Linked DNA regions of Homo sapiens: all the other regions are linked to region 2. Evidence: promoter capture Hi-C in 16 types of primary human blood cells and fetal thymus (Javierre and others, 2016). All regions are on one chromosome and are shown on one strand. The core of a region is centred on a gene start or on the middle of the fragment in contact, and the rest is flanking DNA. Distances in the headings are between cores, read along the strand shown. Region 1 overlaps MIR646HG (MIR646 host gene). Region 2 holds the start of SYCP2 (synaptonemal complex protein 2). Region 3 overlaps MIR646HG (MIR646 host gene). Region 4 overlaps MIR646HG (MIR646 host gene).

Region 1 (2,989 bases), core at 359-2,858, 310 kb before region 2:
TCTCAGGAAATTAGTGTCAAAATATGTTATTTGGTTGCTCAGTGTCTTCCTTTCCAGAGGGCTCCAAAAGGGGCGTGTTCGGAGAGAGACAGAGCCAATGAGAAGCTGCACCACTTTCTCTAAGGGGTCGCGGGAGCCCAGAAGCCCAGCAGCATCTCTTCCAGAACATTATCAAAGCTGTCACAAAAGCCCACCCAGAGCCTAACAGAGGGGACATGAGACACCGCCCTTTGAGGGAGTGCAAGGTGCTATAAGCCCCTGTGGGACAGACATCTCTCGTGGCCTCTTCTGGAACATGCGGGCTGCCGGGCAGCCCTGCCTTCCTCCCTTAGCCTCACTCCTGCAGAAGCCAGCCATCTCTCCCCATCCCACTTGCCTTGCTTCACCCCAGCTCAAGACATCACCTAATTCCTGGGGCTTTAGAACTCACTCTTTAAGCAGCTGTCCTTGTCACTCCAATTTAACTTAGACCAGCAAATTGGCCCATGTGTGAAAGATGTGTTGAATTACTTCTCACAGGTATCCTCAGACCCATCTTGCTCGTTGGGTGCTTGGGAGGAGAGCCCTTTGGGATTAACAGAGAATGAGGATACACACTTGCAAGCACCCCAAAATGTCCCCCACTGCACCTCACCCCACTGCCAAGGCATTATTTTAAGATAAGCAAGTGAGCAGTGGCTCACACCTGTAATCCCGACACTTTGAGAGGCCAAGGCAGGTGGATCACCTGAGGTCAAGGGTTCAAGACCAGCCTGGCCAACATGGTGAAACCCTGTCTCTACTAAAAATACAAAAATTAGCTGGGCATAGTGGCAGGTGCCTGTGATCCCAGCTACTTGGGAGGCTTAGGCAGGAGAATCACTTGAACCCGGGAGGCAGAGGTTGCAGTGAGCTGAGACTGCACCATTGCACTCCAGCCTGGGCAACAAGAGCGAAACTCTGCCTCAAATAAATAAATACATAAGTGAAAAAAATAACTTACCTGATACCACAGAGTTAAGGGACAGAGTGGTGGGGCTGAGGTTTGAACCCAGGCAATTTGACTCCAGACACAATATCCTAATTCCCACCCAGTGGCAACATCTACCAGTGAAAAGGCCTCTGTATCCAAGCATGTCCACCTTGAACCCATTGTTAAAACACAGATTCCTGGGCCCCACCACACAGGTCCAGGGTGGGGGCCCAGGACGCACATTTTGAATTCTTCTGACAAGCTCCCCAGGGTTACCTTGGGTGCTGCTGGCCCACAGACCTCCCTTTGAAGGGCCCTGCACTCTATCATCACAACAGTGACACAGTCTCTGGGCCCTCACGGCATGACTGTAAAAACCAGAGAAGAGAAAAGGAAAACTCTTATTTCTTCCTCTCTGAATACAGCAGCAAATTCTTGCATGATAATAATGTAAAAACAGAAAATCTTTTGTTAAAACTCTCTTAAATGTGTATGTTTATGTATACATATATTTTGCAATGCATATTTTTATTTTATAAGCAAAATTAGTTTTTCTTTTAATAAAAACCATATACAGTTTAAAAAATAATCAAAGAAGAGAATATTGGTGACAATCCTAAACATAATAGAGCTCTTTGAAAAAGTAAAGGGTGGCTATTTAGATTATTGATTTTGGTGTTATCTTACGGGTCTGATTCAACAAAATTCCCAGCCCCATCTTCTGAATACCTGGGTTACAAGCTGGAGTCCGTGCAATTATGAAATCCCAGGCACGTCTCCATCAGAGCTCTATTTTTGCCATTAATATTCTAATAAGAAAGGCTAAATGGAATCAGTAGGAAGCCATGTGAACTGTCTGCGGAAAAGACTACAAAATTTTTTTATTGTTATTATTTCAGTTTGTAGACATTTCATTGTAATGGGTGAAATCAGAGGCCTGAGCTGAGACTTAATCTGTATTTTGTGGTACAGCGAGGAATATTTTCCCCTCCTAATCTCTACTTAAAGTGTAAGTAAGAGTGCCTCTATCCATCGCTGTGAACAAAAAGCACAAAAGGATTCAGAAAGTAATAACAAAGATAAATAACTTTGCAATAAAATTTCAGCTCCAGTAATTTTCCATTTATATTTTCTCACTGAATCATGTAGTCCTGAGCATTGCACTATTCACGTCTGAGCTGCATCATGCAAAGTAATTTCATATCTAATGCTTCCCAGAGAGTCCCAAATAACGCCCCATGCCCCATGCACCACTGTGCAGCCAGTGAGTCACACGGTTCACCCCAATAATAGGACTTCCCGTGTGATTTCATTGTCTTTCCCAGGCAATCAGTCTCAACATCGCAGAGAGAACAAATTGTCAGGAAGCCCCTCCAGCAAAGGGGGTCCCATGCTATTACTTATGCCACTTATTGTTGGAAGCTGAATGCTGAACGTGGTTTTTCTGGGTGAAACCACTGACGTGGTTTTCAGCCAGCAAGTGTAGGCCTTGGTTAGCAAGGCAATAGTTAAGTGCATTAGGGGACCTCAGGGAATGTTCCAGAGCGAAAAGGGAGGTGAAAGGGTGGGAGGAAGAAAGCAGGAGGAGCAGAGCCATTCTTCAGGCTCCAGATAGGGAGCGCACTCTGCTCTCCTGAAAGAAATCTCCCTCTCCCTATCGCTCTATTTCTCCATCTCTCTCCACCTCTGTCTCTGTCTCTAGGTCTCCATTTCTTTCTCCATATCTGTCTTTCCCTCCTTTACCCTCTCTCTCTCCCCTTGCCTCAGTTCTTTTTCCCCTCGTCTCTCCTCACTCTTCCTCCCCGTCTTCTTTGTCTGTAGAGAGATGTTCTCCATCCAGCCTTCTACCTTTTCTTCTCCTTTCCCATCCATCCATCCATCTCCCTCTCTCCTCACTCTCTTCCTTTTCTCTCCAGGTCCCTTGCCCTTTTAGCCCTCCCATTCCTCTCTCCACTCCCCTCACCTCCACTCTGGACATCTTTCTCTCTGAGCCAACCTAAACCAGATGCAGCAAGGGCTCTGTAGAGGCCACCCTAT
Region 2 (2,911 bases), core at 347-2,846:
TGCGTTCGCAACTCCACCATGAAGGATCTTAGATCTATTGGCGGAAAACTAGGTATGAAAATAATTATGCAAAATTGCCAGGTCACAATTTTGAAGCACTCTTCGATCTTCTTACATTTTGTGTTATACATTATTAGTACTTAAACGTATAATTCAAAAGCATTGAAAGCTTTGAACATATAAAATCCCCTCAAATCCCTGCGTACACCTGTGTACCTTAGATTGCATATGTAATCTGTCAGCTCTGAATTAAAAAACTAAGATATCAAAATTAAGTTCAATGGGGGTAGTTACAAAGTTGTCAAGAAGTTGGTAATTCTAGCTAAGCAGAATATTTAAAACACCTCTGAGAGCTTATTTACTGTGATTTGATCTGCTCTGGTCCACAACTGAGCTTTGATTCTATTACCTTGTGTTTATTTTTTTCAGGTGCTTTCCACCGCACATTTAAATCTTAATCCCATATTTTTAAACAATTAGTGCCTTTTAGATAAGAAATTAAAATGTTATTAAAATATAATTTTAAATTTTGATTTGAAGATACCTATAAAAGTTTAACTACACATACAATTCAACTTTTAAAAATTGATCCGACACAAATATTAATCCAAAGGTGGTTTGCTGCAGTATTATTTGTAATAGAAGTGTAGGCTCATCAGTGGAGGATTGAATTCCTCGGATGAAGTTAATCCACATGATTAAATAATTACGAAGCTGTTAGAAAGACCGAGCTGCATCTCAGTGCACGTGGAACAGTTTCCATCTCAGAACGCGAGCACGGGGAAAACACGCAGAAGACTGAGCGCCGAACACCGACGCCCTCTGCGAGCCAAGGGGCAAGGAGACCCTTTCGCGGCTGTGCCTGTCTCAGAAGGGCCTGCGATTTTTTACACAAGCACCCGCTGGCTGCATAAGTTAAACGGATCTCTTAAATGGAAGCGTCTGAAAGAGCCTAGGAATACACAGTTGGGTACCCAGCTCAGCACCCCGTCTCCGGACCTGCGGTCTCTCCCGCCCTCCGGCACCCGCACCCAGGAGCCCAGGCGGCCCTGCGCCCCCTGCCGGCAGGAGCCAGGCCTCACCCAGGAGTCGTCGGCCCGGCGCCCTGGTCCCCCGGTCCAGCTCGCCCCTGCAGGGCTGGCTGGAGCCGCGGGTCCCAGTGGCTCTGGGGACGCATAGCGCGGGGATGGGCTTCTCCTGGTCCCGCCCGCGCTTCCGTCCCTTCCATCCCTTCCTGCTCGCCTGTCCCGGGACCAGGGCCCCAGTCAAGGCAGCGAGTCTCCTCGCTGGCGGGGGTGACTCCGCTCGCGGGGCGTTCATCAGGAGAGCATAGCGCGAGAGGACGGGCCGAAGCGCGGGGACAGCGGGGACCCACTAACCTGAGGGCCTGGCCTGAGCCGCGCCCACAGCGTCCCCCTTGGCTCAGGCCTCGGGCGACCCCGGCGAGCGTTGGCGGGGGTGGGGGGGATGGGGGGGGCGGGACCTGGCTGGCGGCGACGCCGATTGGACGCACTATCGACCGCACCTGGCGCGGATTGGACGGGCGCTTCCCGCCTTCCGCCGTTCGCCGGAGGCGCTGCGGCGGTCCCTGAGGCGCAGAGTTGCGACGCTCGGCGGCATAGGGGGCGGCTCCACCGACACTACGCGGACGCCTCCTGCCGCAGGCAGGTTGAGCAGAGTGCCTGGGTGGGCTTCCCCCACGGCGGGGCGCGGAGGGAGGGTGGGGCTTCGGCTTGGCCTTTCAAGCCGGCAGGCGAGAAGCTTCCGACGGTTGAGGCGGAGCCGTTGTGGAAGCTGCCGAGGGGGAGGGGGTGCGGTTCTGCGGCAGTGGGCGGAGGGGAGGCGCCGAGGCTGGGCCAGGGCGTGGGCTGTGCAGAGTTCGCGGCGAGGGTGGCTCGCGCAGGCGCGAGGCTCCCCATCAGCACCTGCCTGGCCAGCCTCGGCCTCGGGGATGGGAAATGGGCGCTCGGAGCCGCCCCCGCGCGTGGGCGACTCGGTCAAGGTGGCTGAGGCGCGGGGCGGTGCGCTTGGCGAGCGGGGAGCAGGCCTGGGGCTGCGCGCGTCGCCGGCCCGAGGAGGCTGAGGGGTGCGGGAGAAGCGGTGGCGACGGGAGCCCTGGGGACCGCTGCTCGCCTGTCTCCGGGACATCTGAAGGGGGGTTGGCGCTGCGGCCTGGGGCGCATCTCGGGTGTGTGTGTGCTTTGTTGGTTCGGGGGTGACCCTGGGAAAAGGGTCACCGTGCCGGCGGTGGGAGCAGGGACTTCGCCTTCGGCCTCGTTGTTGCCACTGCCGGTTCCACTTAGGGAAGAAGGGAGTGCGCGCAAAACCTTCCTCCTGCTCGGCGCCTTCAGTCCCTTCTCTCCCTCCCGCCGTCCCCACCTGCGGCCTCTCCTTGCGGTTGAGGCCGCCAGCCCCTCCGCGCAGCTGGGCCTGATGCGTCCCGCGGCGGCTCAATGCGCGACACGTGGCTCCACGTGCGGCCTTTTCTGGACCGGGCTCCAGGCTGGCCGAGCATCTGCGAATACGGCAGCGTGGTTTTTTTTTGTTGTTTTTTTTCCCGAGACGGAGTCTCGCTCTGTCACCCAGGCTGGAGTTTAGTGGTGCGATCTCGCGTCACTGCAACCTCCATCTTCCGGGTTCCAGCGATTCTCCTGCTTCAGCCTCCGGAGTAACTGGGACTACTTGGCGCGCCACCACGCCCAGCTAATTTTGTATTTTTAGTAGAGACGGGTTTTCTCCATGTTGGCCCGGCTGGTCTCGAACTCCTGACCTCAGGTGATCCACCTGCCTCGGCTTCCCAAAGTGCTGGGATTACAGGTGTGAGCCACCTCGCCCGGCCTACATTTTTTAGTAATGATGGGAGGAGGAGGACGCCTTCCCTCCCCTTCATTCACCTTTAATGTCTTTTTGG
Region 3 (3,024 bases), core at 440-2,939, 260 kb before region 2:
GGGGTGGGCTGGTTACTGGCTATAAGTCAAGATGCCCTGCCGTTGCTTCATTGCTTAGCAATGTTGGGGTAAAGGGGCACTGGAACTCAAGCTGGGGCAATCTCATGAGCTCTCTTTCCACCAACCCCCAGATATTCTGTTAGCCAAGATGACACAAGATAGGGAAAAGAGTTAACCTGATTCCCACCAGATACACTGAGTTGAGATGCCTGGTGCCAGCTCCTGCTACCTGGACCATAACTCTGCCCTTGATCTTGCCATTTCCCAAGCAGAGTTCTCATGCTCTTACTAGATCCTCTTCTGCTTAACCAGAGTTTGTGACCTGGGTAACCCTCACTGGCCCAAACTCATTTTGACAGATCAAATGATTCCTCCTCACCTGAGAAGAAGCAGCTAGAAGTACTCCCAGACACTGCAGGGCATCTAGTCTTCCTCCTCTGCAACAAGAGCCTGGCAGTGTCCCCCTCCCCTCAAAGGATGGCCAGGCCAGCACCCAGCACAGGAGGCCCAGAGCTCCTCCATTGTGGCCCTGAATAATGGAGGGGATGGCACAGATCCACAGTGAAGTATGTGCCCTCTGGACCAAGGCTGTCCAGCTTGAATCCCAGCTCTGCTCCTCACCACTGTATGACTTGGACAAGTCACCAAGTCACCTCGCCCCCATGTGCCTCCATTTCCTCATCTACCAAATGCAGCTAATGCCATTGTTTTTATCTCAAAGGCTTGTTTTAAGGATTAATGAGTTAACATGTGTAAAGCACATAGAACAGCACTTGACCCAAATATTCATTTACTAAGTTTTAGCTATTCTACTCTTCCTCTTATTACTGTTGTTAAAAAAAATAAGTAGCATTCTCACCAATTTAGTTTAGAGATGTAGCTGGCTTTCATTAGTGAGTCATGTGTCAGGCAACATTCCATCTAAAGCTTTAGAAAGAAGATCCTGTAAGCTGAGAAAAGGAGATGGACTTTATGGCTGAAAAAAGGAATAAAAAGTAGAATGGGCATTACAGGTTACTTTCCTTATAAGGTCAAAATGGAGGGAACTTCTGTATCATGCTGTTTCAGACAAATGGGGCTTCTTCCAACTGCTGCTAGGAATCTCCTGTTTTTTGGAAAACTGGTCCGTATGAGTCAGTTTGATTACATGGCACTTAGTATGGATGAATCCATTCTGGTCTGGTTGGTCTGTTGCGCCTAAAACGGAGCTCATTCTAAACAATGACCCCCATCATTGTTATACAACATTATCATGATTTCTACTGTCCTCTTCAGCCTGCAAATGTGCCCTGGTTCAGGCTGTGGTCACAGACTTTACAGATGCTGGTTTGCCAGCACATCAAGAGCTGATCCTTCTCACAATGGCAACCCCACATATGCCAAGTTTTTACAGCTGAAGTCTAAGCTCCAAATGCCAATTTTTAACTTACAGTAACTCATCTCTGTCATTTTGTGGTCAAGAACACAGACTCTGGCATCAAACCCACCTAGATTCAAATCCCAGTGATGCCACCTGCACACTGTGGATTGTTAATCCCCTCTCTCAATCCTACCTCATAGGATTGGAGCGGGGATTGACACAAAATAATATGCACAGAGGGCTTCCTGGGGAGCCTGGCACCTAATAAGTGTTCAATAAATGGCAGCAAAATGTCCTGTAATTATCATGGTGATTGAAAAGATTGCCCGTGCATGGTAGGCATAAGAAGCCAACTTGTATTCAGAGCATCATTTGTTTGATTTTAGAATGAGAAGTAACTCATGCTGGGCACAGGATGCTCAAAGTCTCTATGATTCCTGCATTATTTCCCTGCAGGCAGACAATGGGGGTACCACAAATAATCAGCACATAGCCTGGGGAGCCTGGAATAGACACAGGAAGAGGGAGGGGTGTTCAATGTTTAATGTCACTGGGTTAGGAAGATGCATCAGCTTCACCTGATGGGCTTTGCCACCCTGGCCAGATTGCCTCCATGGCTAAAGCTCTCTCTACCCCTCAGAGAGGTTCTAAATGAAACTCCCAGTATTTGCCAGTGGGATTTATACACAGCTTCCTGAGCACAGCAAACCTTCTTTGAATGACACAACCTCATCCTGAAGTTGTTAATAAATTCACCCAGGTCCCAGCCAGCCTTCTCTCTCCCTCCCTAGCTGGCTCTGCCTCTCTCATCTGGGGAATTACGTGTTGATCTATTTCTTAAAGCCCTGTTGAAGCCAGTGTTTCTAAGTTCTGCAGGAGAGGGAGGCATCTCAATTCAGCCTCCCAATACCGTTCGTAACTGAACACTTAATCCAGGGTAACTTGATCTCTTCTGTCCTAAAGTTGCATGTGTAATTGAACTCAATTTTTAAAAATTACATCATGTTTCTGCATAGAGGAAAAGCACCAGCTTCCATTACAGGATGTCCCATTATGCAGTAGGCACCTATAATGTCACCATTCTAAGCTTTCAACATAGTGTATCTTATACAATCCTGAAAGGAAACCCCTGTGGGATACCTCTCAGCAATGAAAAGGGGTGAACTACTGATGCGTGAGAAAACCTGGTTGGATTTCAAGGGAATTACCTTGAGTGAAAAACACCAATCTCAATGGGTTACTTAGTACATGATTCCATTTATATAACTTTCTTAAAATGGCAAAATTTTAGAGATGGGAGGCAGGTCCATGGTTGCCAGAGTTTGACAAGGAAAGCGCGTGGTGTGGCTATGACAAAGTGGCACAAGGGGCCTTATGACGGATATGCTGTTTCTGGACTGAAGTGATGTTCACAAGAATCTACACGTGGCATAAAATTACAGGGAACTAAATACCCACGTGTAGGGAAGAAAAAGCACCTTTTCCTCACCCATGGCAAGGGTCTTGACCGACAACCCTGTAACAAAAGGCAGATTGCCAGGAGAAAGCATAACACATTTATTTTTATAAAGGTTAATGTGAGGAGCCTCCCGAAATGAATATTCAAAGACCCAGGGAAAACTATGTATTTTTATAATAAGTCTGATGAAAAATTTAATTTGTGG
Region 4 (3,059 bases), core at 402-2,901, 290 kb before region 2:
TAACTATCAGCAGAAAAGGCCACGCCATGGTTATAATGTGGGGAGACCGTAATGTTAACTGGGGGTCATTTGCCGTGAGCCCGACAGACGCTCTATAGGCCTCCCCTACTAGGAGGCCAATGAACTGAGAGTCGGGCCTGCCTGAGCTTCTGTGTTCATTTCCTAGAGGTGCCTTCACAAAATACCATCAACTGGGCATCTTAAAACAACAGAAATATATTCTCTCCCAGTTCTGGAGGCCAGAATTCCAAAATCAAGATGTCAGCCAGGTTGGTTCCTCCTGGGGCTCTGAGGGTGAGTCCTCCCCTGCCTCTCATCTGCCCTCTGGTGGTCCTTGGGGGCAAGTGATGCTGATGGTTACATCTCCCAAGTCCCATGGCCAGGTTTGGTCTCCATCGGCCAGGCCAGTCACTTAACTGAAGCTTACAACAGATCCTTCATAGGATAAAATAAGATGATATCTTAGTCCAAATAAACAACACAAAATTTATTTCTTGGATGAACATGGTGACTTACGCCTATAATCCCAGAATTTTGGGAGGCCGAAAAGGGAGGACCGCTTGAGCCTGAGAGGTTGAGGCTGCAGTGAACTATGATTGTGTCACTGCACTCCAGGCTGAGTGACAGACAGAGTCCCCGTCTCAAAAAATAATAATAATAAAACAAAACAAAATAAAATAAAATATGCATTTCTCACAGTTGTGGGGGCTGGAAGTCCAAGACTCAGATGCCACACATTCAATGTCTAGTGAGGTCCGGCTTCCTGGTTCCTAGACGGCTGTCTTCTTGCTATGCTCTCAAGTGGTAGAAGGGCTGAAGAGTCTCTCCAGGGCCTTTTTAAAATAAAGTCACTAATCCCAATTACATTAGAGATTAGGATTCAAAATATAAATTTGGGGAGATCACGTTCAGGCCATAGAAGATGACTTTGTGAATTGCTTTCCACAGCGTCTGACACAAAATAGGTGTTCCATCATGATTTCCTGCCATCAGCTGCAGCAGCAGCATTTTGTCATACCTGGGTACAGCCGCCGTGTCTGGTTGTGACAATGGGACACCTTGGGTTTGCATCTGGCCCAGCTCAAACATTCCAATGCACTCAAACATTCTCTAGCACTCAGTTCAACTCAGCAAATGTGTACTGGGTGCCCGCACACCCAGCACTCTGCTAGCGCTGAAGTTACTGAGACAATGAGGCCCTGACCTCAAGGAGGAGATGGAGAAACAGAGACACAGCTGTTCAAAGGGATGGAGGCTGGAATCCCAGGCTACCTTTCACCAGCATGACTGACTTGGTCAAGTTCCTGAAACCTCTCTAAACCTCAGTTTCCATATGTGTAAGCAGAATGTATAGGACAACTCCTACTTGTTGGGGAGGCTGGCAGGGCCCAACAAGGCAGCACTTTCAAAACTCTCGATAAAGAGTAACCGCTTAATAAATGTTAGTGATTATCATCATGGGCAAAGCAGGAGAGGAGAATGGGGTGGACGGGAGTTGTGGAAGGAGAGGTGTTGGGGATGGTTTTGCCAAGGCAAGCTCTGCAAAAGAGGTAGAAAGTGAAGCCAGGCATTCTGGGGGGCAGACCCCCTGGGAAGGCGGTGAGGGACACACGTTCTAGGCACTCCTGACTAATGTGAGGGGCCATCACATAGTGGGGAATATAATATATGGGAGAACAGAGATGTTTCCAGAGGCAGAACAGGCCCTAAGCCCAAGCTGAGGTTTTCCTTCTGGTTTCAGGGAAAAAGAACTTCAGGTTCGACCCTCTCTGGGACTTTCTAGACATGAGATTCTCTGAAAGGACATTTCCATTCCTGTTCCTGAAGTCTTATCTCCAGAAAAAAAAAGAAAAGAAAAAACTGTACTAGGGCTGTTAGGACTGGTGGTTCTTTATTCTCTGAAAGTAATACAAATTTGAATATTACTTTAGCATTTACAAAAACTATCTATGACCCTGAGATCGCACCACTGCACTCCAGTCTGGGCAACAGAACGAGACTCTGTCTCAAAAACTTAAATTAAATTAAATTTAAATTAAAAAGTGGGTATAAATACGACTGCAGAACTGCCCTGGCCTGCTACTCTCAGCACACCGCCTATGGGGTGGCCTGTTCTGTGGGAGCAGTCACGGGGCTGTAACACTGCCATCTCAATAAAGCATTTTCTTCTACCACCAGCTTACCCTCAAATTCTTTCCTGGGTGAAGCAAAGAACCCTTTTGGTCTAAGCCCCAATTTGGGGCTCCCCTGCCCTGTATCAATGTAATTTTTAGGAAGCTCCATTTTTTCATCTACAAAACATGGATGATAAAGACAGTATCTACCGCATGGGGTTAAATTGAATATTATATATGAGACTATAAGCACACTGCCCAGCACAGAGTAGGTTATCAGGAAGTGGTGGTTATAATAATAATAGTGTATGTTATGGTTATTATATTTCTGCTTCTAAGAGATCTTAAATCCATGCACATTCTCTCCATGCCATCAGCTTAGTCTAGGCCACCATTATTTCCAGGCTCTGGCACCACCTCCAAATGGCCCCTCACTTCCACTCTTCTCCTCTAATACATTCTCTATATCACAGCAAGAAGAATGAGCCTATCACATAAATTAGGTTGCTTTTCCTGTTGCTGAAATCCCTGCAATGGTTTTTCCATTATTTCTCCAAAATCCCTCCCTCTGGGCTGCACAGTCTGTGCCCCGGCCCATGATCCTTTCAGAGCACTGAGCCACAATCAACTTCCTTTACTCCCTGGAAAATCCTACTCATGCCCTGCCCCAGGGCCTTTGCACAGGCCACTCCCACTCCTTGGAGCTTGCTCCCGGGTGTTCACTATCTTGGAACAATTGCCTCCTCCTCATCCTTTCCAAGCTTCTCAGAGATGCCTTCTTTGTAACAACCACCTAAAGCATCACTCATCACACACAACAGTAAAAGTATTCTGTGTAGGTAGTCATTCTCTTTTGTGCTGTTTCTCCCATTAGACTGGAGAGAGAAGTAAAGGAGAGAGCAGTGTTCGTGTTCTTGCCCGCTGGGTCTCCAGTCCATAGCTCAT

What was found. Contacts are between HindIII fragments. The CHiCAGO score rates a contact against its expected background, and 5 or more counts as called.
Region 1: a fragment that was not itself captured here is called in contact with the fragment with the promoter of SYCP2 in region 2 in 1 of 17 cell types (neutrophils); the score reaches 5.9 in neutrophils.
Region 3: a contact is called between a fragment that was not itself captured here and the fragment with the promoter of SYCP2 in region 2, in 1 of 17 cell types (neutrophils). The highest score is 5.4, in neutrophils.
Region 4: a contact is called between a fragment that was not itself captured here and the fragment with the promoter of SYCP2 in region 2, in 2 of 17 cell types (neutrophils and monocytes). The highest score is 5.5, in neutrophils.

What each region holds. Positions count from the first base shown.
Region 1 is chr20:60,244,369-60,247,357 of GRCh38, reverse strand. All of the region lies in intron 3 of MIR646HG (MIR646 host gene), which reads right to left. Among named protein-coding and RNA genes, the nearest start is that of MIR646, 63 kb to the left of the region's middle. The HindIII fragment of the contact is 4,957 bases long and covers 1-2,989 here.
Region 2 is chr20:59,932,322-59,935,232 of GRCh38, reverse strand. It overlaps SYCP2 (synaptonemal complex protein 2), which reads left to right and starts at 1,596. Exons shown (of 45, transcript NM_014258.4): 1 at 1,596-1,664. It also overlaps a transcript of FAM217B not described here. RefSeq lists a silencer at 906-1,305. The HindIII fragment of the contact is 1,592 bases long and covers 172-1,763 here.
Region 3 is chr20:60,190,433-60,193,456 of GRCh38, reverse strand. The region is part of intron 3 of MIR646HG (MIR646 host gene); the gene reads right to left. Among named protein-coding and RNA genes, the nearest start is that of MIR646HG, 53 kb to the right of the region's middle. The HindIII fragment of the contact is 1,520 bases long and covers 930-2,449 here.
Region 4 is chr20:60,222,410-60,225,468 of GRCh38, reverse strand. The region is part of intron 3 of MIR646HG (MIR646 host gene); the gene reads right to left. Among named protein-coding and RNA genes, the nearest start is that of MIR646, 85 kb to the left of the region's middle. The HindIII fragment of the contact is 2,453 bases long and covers 425-2,877 here.